2 separate regions of the Homo sapiens genome follow, and region 1 is linked to region 2. Evidence: promoter capture Hi-C in human tissues and cell types (Jung and others, 2019). All regions are on one chromosome and are shown on one strand. The core of a region is centred on a gene start or on the middle of the fragment in contact, and the rest is flanking DNA. Distances in the headings are between cores, read along the strand shown. Region 1 overlaps SLC22A3 (solute carrier family 22 member 3). Region 2 holds the start of IGF2R (insulin like growth factor 2 receptor).

Region 1 (3,765 bases), core at 673-3,172, 390 kb after region 2:
AACCCAGGAGGTCGAACTGTGCTGCTGTATTCCAGCCTGGGTGACAGAGGAAGACCCTGTCTCTAAAAAATAAAATAAAATATCTCGGACACTAATTTGCTCTAAAGGCTGAGAATACCGATACTTTCCCACTGGACCCCACAGGTAGGTCATATTTCCCAGCTTCCCTTGAAGCTAGAGAGGCCACGTGTCTGAGTCCTGGTCAGTGATGTTGGGGAAGTGAATGTGGAACTGCTAAGCCTGGAGCCGGAGCAACCTTCCTCCTGCAGTCCCCGGAGGATGGTGGAACTCTTACACGGAAGGATATGCGTTCCTGGAGGCATGCGAGGCAGGCAGGAGCCCCACAGCTCCCCTCCACACCAATTCATCTGCACAGGAATATGGGATTGCGAATAAGAAATAAGCTTTATTGTGTTACACAACTGAGGCTTGGGAGACTGCTTGTTGCAGCTCTTCCTGTTAGGCTGCTCTGACTCATACAGCATCTTAGTGTGCTTCCTGGCAGGGCACAGGTCACGAGGCTGTGGGCACCTGACAAAATGGTATGGAGGCTGGTGCCTCTAAGAGCATCCTCCCCTAGGTCTGGTACACAAGGTCTCTGTGCCTCCACCCCATGTCTCCGCCTATAGAGGCTTTTCCCTCTCTTAGCCCCCGGGGCTCCCACTCTCCAGGCAGTCACCCTGGGACATGTGCCACAGCTGTCCTCCCCTTGGGCTCTTGTGTGCGCTGTTTCCTTTCCTTTCCTCAAAATACCTGTCTTTCCTCGGCCGGGCACGGTGGCTCACACCTGTAATCCCAGCACTTTGGGAGGCCAAGGTGGGCAGATCACGAGGTCAGGAGATCGAGACCATCCTGGCTAACACGGTGAAACCCCGTCTCTACTAAAAAAAAAAAAAATACAAAAACGATTAGCCAGGCATGGTGGCGGCTGCCTGTAGTCCCAGCTACCGGGGAGGTTGAGGCAGGAGAATGGCGTGAACCCGGGAGGCGGAGCTTGCAGTAAGCTGAGATCGCACCACTGCACTCCAGCCTGGGCGACAGTTAGAGACTCTGTCTCAAAACAACAACAACAACAACAACAACAAAAAACTTGTCTTTTCTCATGAGGCTGTTCCGTTTTGTACCTTTACACACACCAATTCCAGACACACCTTCCCCACTGCTGCCTCTACCCAGGGCTGGGCTTGGCTTCCTTTATCTGTCTAGCTGCCTTCCCTCTACTCATCTTGTGCTCACTGCCTCATCAGACTCTGAGGTGCTGGAGGGCCGGCGCTCTGCCCTCCTAGCCTAACGCAGTGTTTGGCAAATATTTGTGATTAAATTAATGAATGAAAGAGAAAGGGATTCCTTGGCACGTGTAATGCTTTTTATGACCATGGCTAGGCCAACCCTGGAATTGGCTTTCAGAGATTAACCCAGGCCCTCTACCGATGGTGTTGCTTCCTGTTGACTCCTAACGCCGATTCCTTGCCTCATCCTCCGCCTTCATCATCTTCTGCCTTGCATCCATGAGGTGTGATCAGTCACAGGGTGAACAATCATCGGCGGCCATGGCCGCCCGCAGACCTCTGGAGCAGGAGGAAAACAGGCCTCCACTTTACTTGACTCCTATCTGCTCATGGGGTCTGTGTCCGCAGAATCCTAATGTAGGGGGTGTGACCTGGAACATGAAAGGGACAGGAAGGAATAGAACTGCTGGCTCTTTGGGGCCATAATTTTAATGTGCTGACGTCCATTGTGCAGAAGAGACTTTTCCCAGCTGTCCTGGCACCACACAGTAGTCTGTGTCATCAATCGAGCCTGCTCCAGGGCAGCTGGGCACAGGTGCAAGGCCCGGTGCAGGGAGGAGCACTGAAGGGCCTGGGCTGAGCAGCTCCCAGGGTGCAGCGCTGTCCCCTTCATGGCTATGGAGTGGGGAGCAAACACCACCTACCTTCCAAAACAAACTAAAACCTTTCCAACATTCTGCCTCGGTTTTTTCCCCACCCCCTCTTAAATCATAACCAAGAAAGGACATGTATTTATATTCTGTGAGGAAAAAGCAAAGTTTTAATGGTCTTTGGTGTGGCTTTTTAAAATGATAAATGACTGTTGAGCTTGTCAAATCATGGCTAATACTGTTTTATCTGGGTGAGATCAGTAACAGCTTTTTAAGGGTTACCATGCTGTTATTTCTCTTCGTGTTGGTAATAAAGCAAAATAACTCTGTGGCTGGTACTTGTGTGATAATAGAGAAAATTAGTGAGGGGTGAAGTTTAGGGGCTTAGAAGAAGGTGAATAAATAAATGTAATTTAAACAATTCTGGGGCAGGCATCCATCCCACCTTCCTTAACATCTGCTCTAGATTCTAGTGCCCTGTAGAGTCCAAGGAGGGGAGCTGTCCTTGACTGTGAGCATAGTGGAAACCACTGGATGGAGGAAGGGTAGGCACAAGCCTGGACCTGAGAAACAAAGGCACCTATTCTGCTTTCAAATTCAGTCCTGGGAGAGCAGGTGACCTCTGTCATAGGACTGCTATAGGGCACCAGCAGTGGAGATAACCAAGTGATAAGCAAGTCTTTGGCTTTCCATTAACAGAGACCACTGGTCCCAACATGGAAAAGCGTCCCAGAAGCCTTTCCCAGTTGCTGCGTCCACCTAGCATACACACAGGATGGCTCTGATTTCATGACACTTCTGCCAACGGGAAGCTTTGGGCAATCGACAGCACAAAATGAAAGACAACATGTGTGCTTCCAGGCTAGTGGGGAGGGACGCCGTAAGCTGATGCTTCTGAGACAGAAACCGAAGGGACAAGGTGCCAGGAGCTCCTATACTAAAAACTGTTTGTAGCACATTTATGGGGATTAAGTGGTTGTGGTGAAAACAGCCTGCACGTTTAATATTGATGACGTTTTAAAAAGCAATGCACTGCAAATATCTGTTGAGAAATGAATGCCCTTTAATTGTTCACAAATGAGTATCTTAAAGAAAATACCCATAGAGAAGTCACCTGGATAGTTAAAAACATTAACTACCCAGGGTAGAGGAGAAAATTAGATTGAAACTAATTCAGATTAATTTGGCATCAACTTTAAAGAAATCAAATAAATAAATGTCCAAGTTATTAGAGTGTAAGAAAGTGTTCCAGGAACCTTTTCCACAGAGGTTCTTGATCTTCCTGTGTGGCAGTTAGTGGGAAATTATGTGACAAATTTATCACATCTCTTGTCAGCTCCTAGCATCCTTGTAAGATTGCTACAATTCCCTATCCAGTCTGTATCTAATAGAGCATACATAATGATTTTTATTTTAATTCCAACCAAGTTGAATACATTATAAAACCAAATAAAATTGTCTATTTATCAACTCCAGAGATCATTAGATAATAACAATTTATTGTTGCAGAGTTTTGTGAAAAAATTATCAAATTTTAGATCCAAACTGGTTTAGTGTAGTGTATTGCTAAGGCAAATAGGTGGCTAAGAACGTAGACTTCCTAGTTTTGTGGATGCAAGCAAATGGCTGAATTTGAGGGTTTTTGAGCTCTGGACTAGCCCAGTCCTGAGATTTCCTGGTTTTAGTGGGGAGACTTAGGTAAATAAGGCATTCAAAGTGCTTGTCCTGTTGTCTGAGATATGTAAGTAGCTGGTGATGATCATAGATGCTGACAACAGATACTGAGAAAGTTGACTCAGAGAGGCAGCTTGGGCCTGGAAATTCAGGCAAATGGCAAGCCCCTAGGGCTGAGGGAAGCGTGCTTTAGGCAGGGCACCAAGATTCCA
Region 2 (3,629 bases), core at 933-3,432:
TGAGGTATTTTACAACTCTGTAAATTGTAGACTACTGATGGTAATATACACGATTTTTGTCTTTAGAAATGCAAATTGTGTCTATTGCGTACGCAGCTGTTTTTTGACCTATGGTTACTGACCAATTTTCCATCTATAGACAACCTTATTTCAGCATTCCTAACTGCTTGAATATTTGTTGGATTCTCCTTGGATTTTCCTTTGAACCAGCTGTGACATGTTACCGGTTCTCACATTAATGAATGAGCTAAGGAATACCTTTGATACATGTTCATTCTACATCTGAGTCATGATTATACCATCTTTTAAATATTACCCTTTAGCATTTTTTATTGCATCACTTTAGAAAGCAGAAAATGCTAGTTTTTTAAAAATTGGTGATACTAGTTTTAATTACTTGATTAAGGTGGTTCTACCAGATCTTTCCATTGTGAAGAGGTATTTTGTGTTTTTTAAGGAAGTATACTTTGAAGGTGATACTTTGAGACAAAGAGAATATTCCGCTTCACAATAATTTTTCACCAGATGGTTTTAGTATTTACTGATGGTCTTTGCCTGTATCCATTATAACACTGGAGTTGCAAAACACAAACCCTTTTTCTTTTTTTTTTTTTTTGAGATGGAATCTCGCTCTGTTTCCCAGGCTGGAGTGCAGTGGCACGATCTCTGCTCACTGCAACCTCTGCCTCCTGGGTTCAAGCGATTCTCCTGCCTCAGCCTCCCGAGTAGCTGGGACTACAGGCGTGTGCCACCACGCCCGGTTAATTTTTTGTATTTTTAGTAGAGATGGGATTTCACTGTGTTAGCCAGGATGGTCTCGATCTCCTGACCTTGTGATCCGCCCGCCTTGGCCTCCCAAAGTGCTGGGTTTACAGTCGCGAGCCACCGCGCCCGGTCACCACAAACCCTTTTTCGACGTCCACAGTTTACACCTGAGCTCTCCCTTTGACCCACTACAACACTTTCTTTTCTTGGGCAATATATTAATAGCACGGTGGTTATGTCACAGGCCTGTGACTGGCTTGGGCTCAAACCCGGGCTTTTTCACTTACTAGCTGCAAGACTAACTAGTTATTTAATTTCTCCATTCCTCACTTTCCTTATCTGCAAAACGGATGCAATAAAGGCACCCCCTCTTACAGGACTGTTAGGATTAAATGAGCTAAATCACAGTGTCCGAACACTTCAGTACTTCGTACATAATTACTTGCTCAAGAAATGTTAGCTATTATTGGGTCATGATTATTTATATGTGTTTGAATTCCAGCTTTGCCACATCCCAGAGTGTCTTTGAGTAAGTCACTGAGTATCCTTGTGCCTCAATTCCTCATCTATAAGTAGGTTCCCATCTCATAGGTTTTTAAAGATTCATGCTTACATGCTTAGCAGTGTCTGGTATGGAATAAGCACTAAAAAAGATGAGCTTTTATGATGATGATGATTACTATTTTCAGTCATGATTATTTTGTATATTTACTCTAAAAGAAAGTGAATTTTTTTAGTTCAAGACTTTTAGATTCATCGTTCTACTTTCATTGTGGCTAGCTCATGGCCATCCACGTAGTGAATTAATAAAGCTTTGTTGAGTGGCACTTGCTTGACAGCGACACTTTTGTCCACTCTTTCACCTTGCTGGATTTGTGCTGCCTTCCTTGCTGTAGGAAGCCCACGCTTGGGAAATAACATTCCCACAGAAGGTCTGAGAGGCTCTGACGGGCCAAGGTTGTAAACCCCCATGATTTGACTCCACGGGCAGTTAAAGTGTGTTCCCACCCCCCACGGATCCGCTGCCACTAGGCTGTGCGAAGGCATTTACCTCCCTGGCACTTTGATCCAAGTTCCCTATTTTCCCCTACTGGTCGATCGAGGTTGGGAACAGTTGCTCTAACCTGGGAAGCACCCGCCACGATCCAGCAGGGCGCGGTGGGAGGGGAAACTGAGGCCCGGCTAGGCACCCCCGCCGCGCCCAGCCCGCCGAGAGGCTCAGGCCCCGGGAGGCACCTGGAGCCTGCGCCCCGCCCGCGCCGCTTCCTGTCCCGCGCGCTGCGCTCACGTGACCCGGGCCTGGGAGGAGCCGGGGCGGGCGGGGGTCACCTGAACAAGGGAGTCACGTGAGCGGGGGGCGGGGGTGGGGGGGCGGTGCCGGGCGGCTGTCACGTGACGCGGTTCCGGGGCCGCCGCTGCCGCTGTCGCTGTCGCCGAGCCCAGTCGAGCCGCGCTCACCTCGGGCTCCCGCTCCGTCTCCACCTCCGCCTTTGCCCTGGCGGCGCGACCCCGTCCCGGGCGCGGCCCCCAGCAGTCGCGCGCCGTTAGCCTCGCGCCCGCCGCGCAGTCCGGGCCCGGCGCGATGGGGGCCGCCGCCGGCCGGAGCCCCCACCTGGGGCCCGCGCCCGCCCGCCGCCCGCAGCGCTCTCTGCTCCTGCTGCAGCTGCTGCTGCTCGTCGCTGCCCCGGGGTCCACGCAGGCCCAGGCCGCCCCGTTCCCCGAGCTGTGCAGGTGGGTGGCCCGCCCGGACGCAGGCTCCGCTCGCGGTGCCCGGGGTGAGCGGCCGGCGTGGGGGGCGGGGAGCGCTCGAGGAGCTCCTGGGGTCTCCAAGTCGCCTCCGTTCCGCGCCGGGGTCCGCCCCGTTCCCGAGGGAAAGTTGCCTGCGTGGTGTCCGCGAGTCCCGCCGGGTCCCGTGCGCAGGCGGGGGGCGCGGGGGCACACGCGGTCGTGGCGGTCCTGGAGCCCCGCGTCCGGCCACTTGTGGCTGTCGCTGAGTCGGGGGTGGCTTTGTGCGGAGCGGTCGCCCCGGCCCTTGGGGTCGGCGCCTGCCCTCGCGCGGCCGGGCGTCCGGGAAAGTTGGAGGCAGGAACTCCAGTTTGCTTTGTTCCCGCTGCGCGTTTGCATCAGAGTTTCGCCAGCGGGGCACCGGTGAGGCCCCTCGGTGTGGAGAGGCTCACCGGGGCGTTGGAGCCCGCAGGAATGGTCCTGGAGTTGAGTGTTTGTGGTTTCATTTGCTGATTGATTTCCCCCCGTGGGCTCATTTTCTCTTTAAAGAATATATATATATATATATTTTTAGCAGGCGGTGACTTTTGTCTTCTTTAGATTGGGGGCAGGGGGTGTCGTCCAGTGTGAGCTTTCAAGACTTGACCCTTCACTTCTCTGAGCCCAACTTCCTGCCTGGTTGCTCACATGATGTCATTGTCTCCGGGGCGGATTATTCTAGTGGATCTTGCTCTGGGAACCATGATTGTATAACCCATCAGTCCCATCGAGGGCTGTTCACCTCGCGCAACTGCTAGCAGTCCAGGGCCTGGGGAACTTCGAATTTCAGGAATTTTCTGACCATCCTTTTCTGGACTGTTTAGGATGATGGAAAATTCAGCTTTTGTTTATTTTTTTAAACTTTGGTAAAAAGGAAGCAGGATGAAAAGTTTTGAACAGACAACAGTTTCTCCCTGTTACTGTTACTTTTACAAGTTACTTTTACAAGTTACTTTTCAGAGTGAAACAAAGTTGAGCCTACTTTGGGCTGAACTTGGAGTTTGTGGTAGGGTTTATGGGGGGGGTTCTTATTTTTCCCATGCATCAGAGATAGTTTTATTAGCACCCCTGTGTTCAGAACATGCAGAAATTAGTCTAAG

Evidence for each region. The method cuts DNA at HindIII sites, captures the fragments that hold promoters and counts their contacts. A contact is called where the count stands out against the background at its distance.
Region 1: a fragment that was not itself captured here is called in contact with the fragment with the promoter of IGF2R in region 2 in 1 of the 25 tissues and cell types used here (H1 embryonic stem cells).

What each region holds. Positions count from the first base shown.
Region 1 is chr6:160,354,715-160,358,479 of GRCh38, forward strand. The region is part of intron 1 of SLC22A3 (solute carrier family 22 member 3); the gene reads left to right. Among named protein-coding and RNA genes, the nearest start is that of SLC22A3, 8.2 kb to the left of the region's middle. The HindIII fragment of the contact is 4,722 bases long and covers 1-3,765 here.
Region 2 is chr6:159,966,900-159,970,528 of GRCh38, forward strand. IGF2R (insulin like growth factor 2 receptor) reads left to right here and starts at 2,183. Exons shown (of 48, transcript NM_000876.4): 1 at 2,183-2,496. The coding sequence starts at 2,348. RefSeq lists silencers at 1,744-2,363, 2,374-2,653, 2,674-2,803. The HindIII fragment of the contact is 6,621 bases long and covers 525-3,629 here.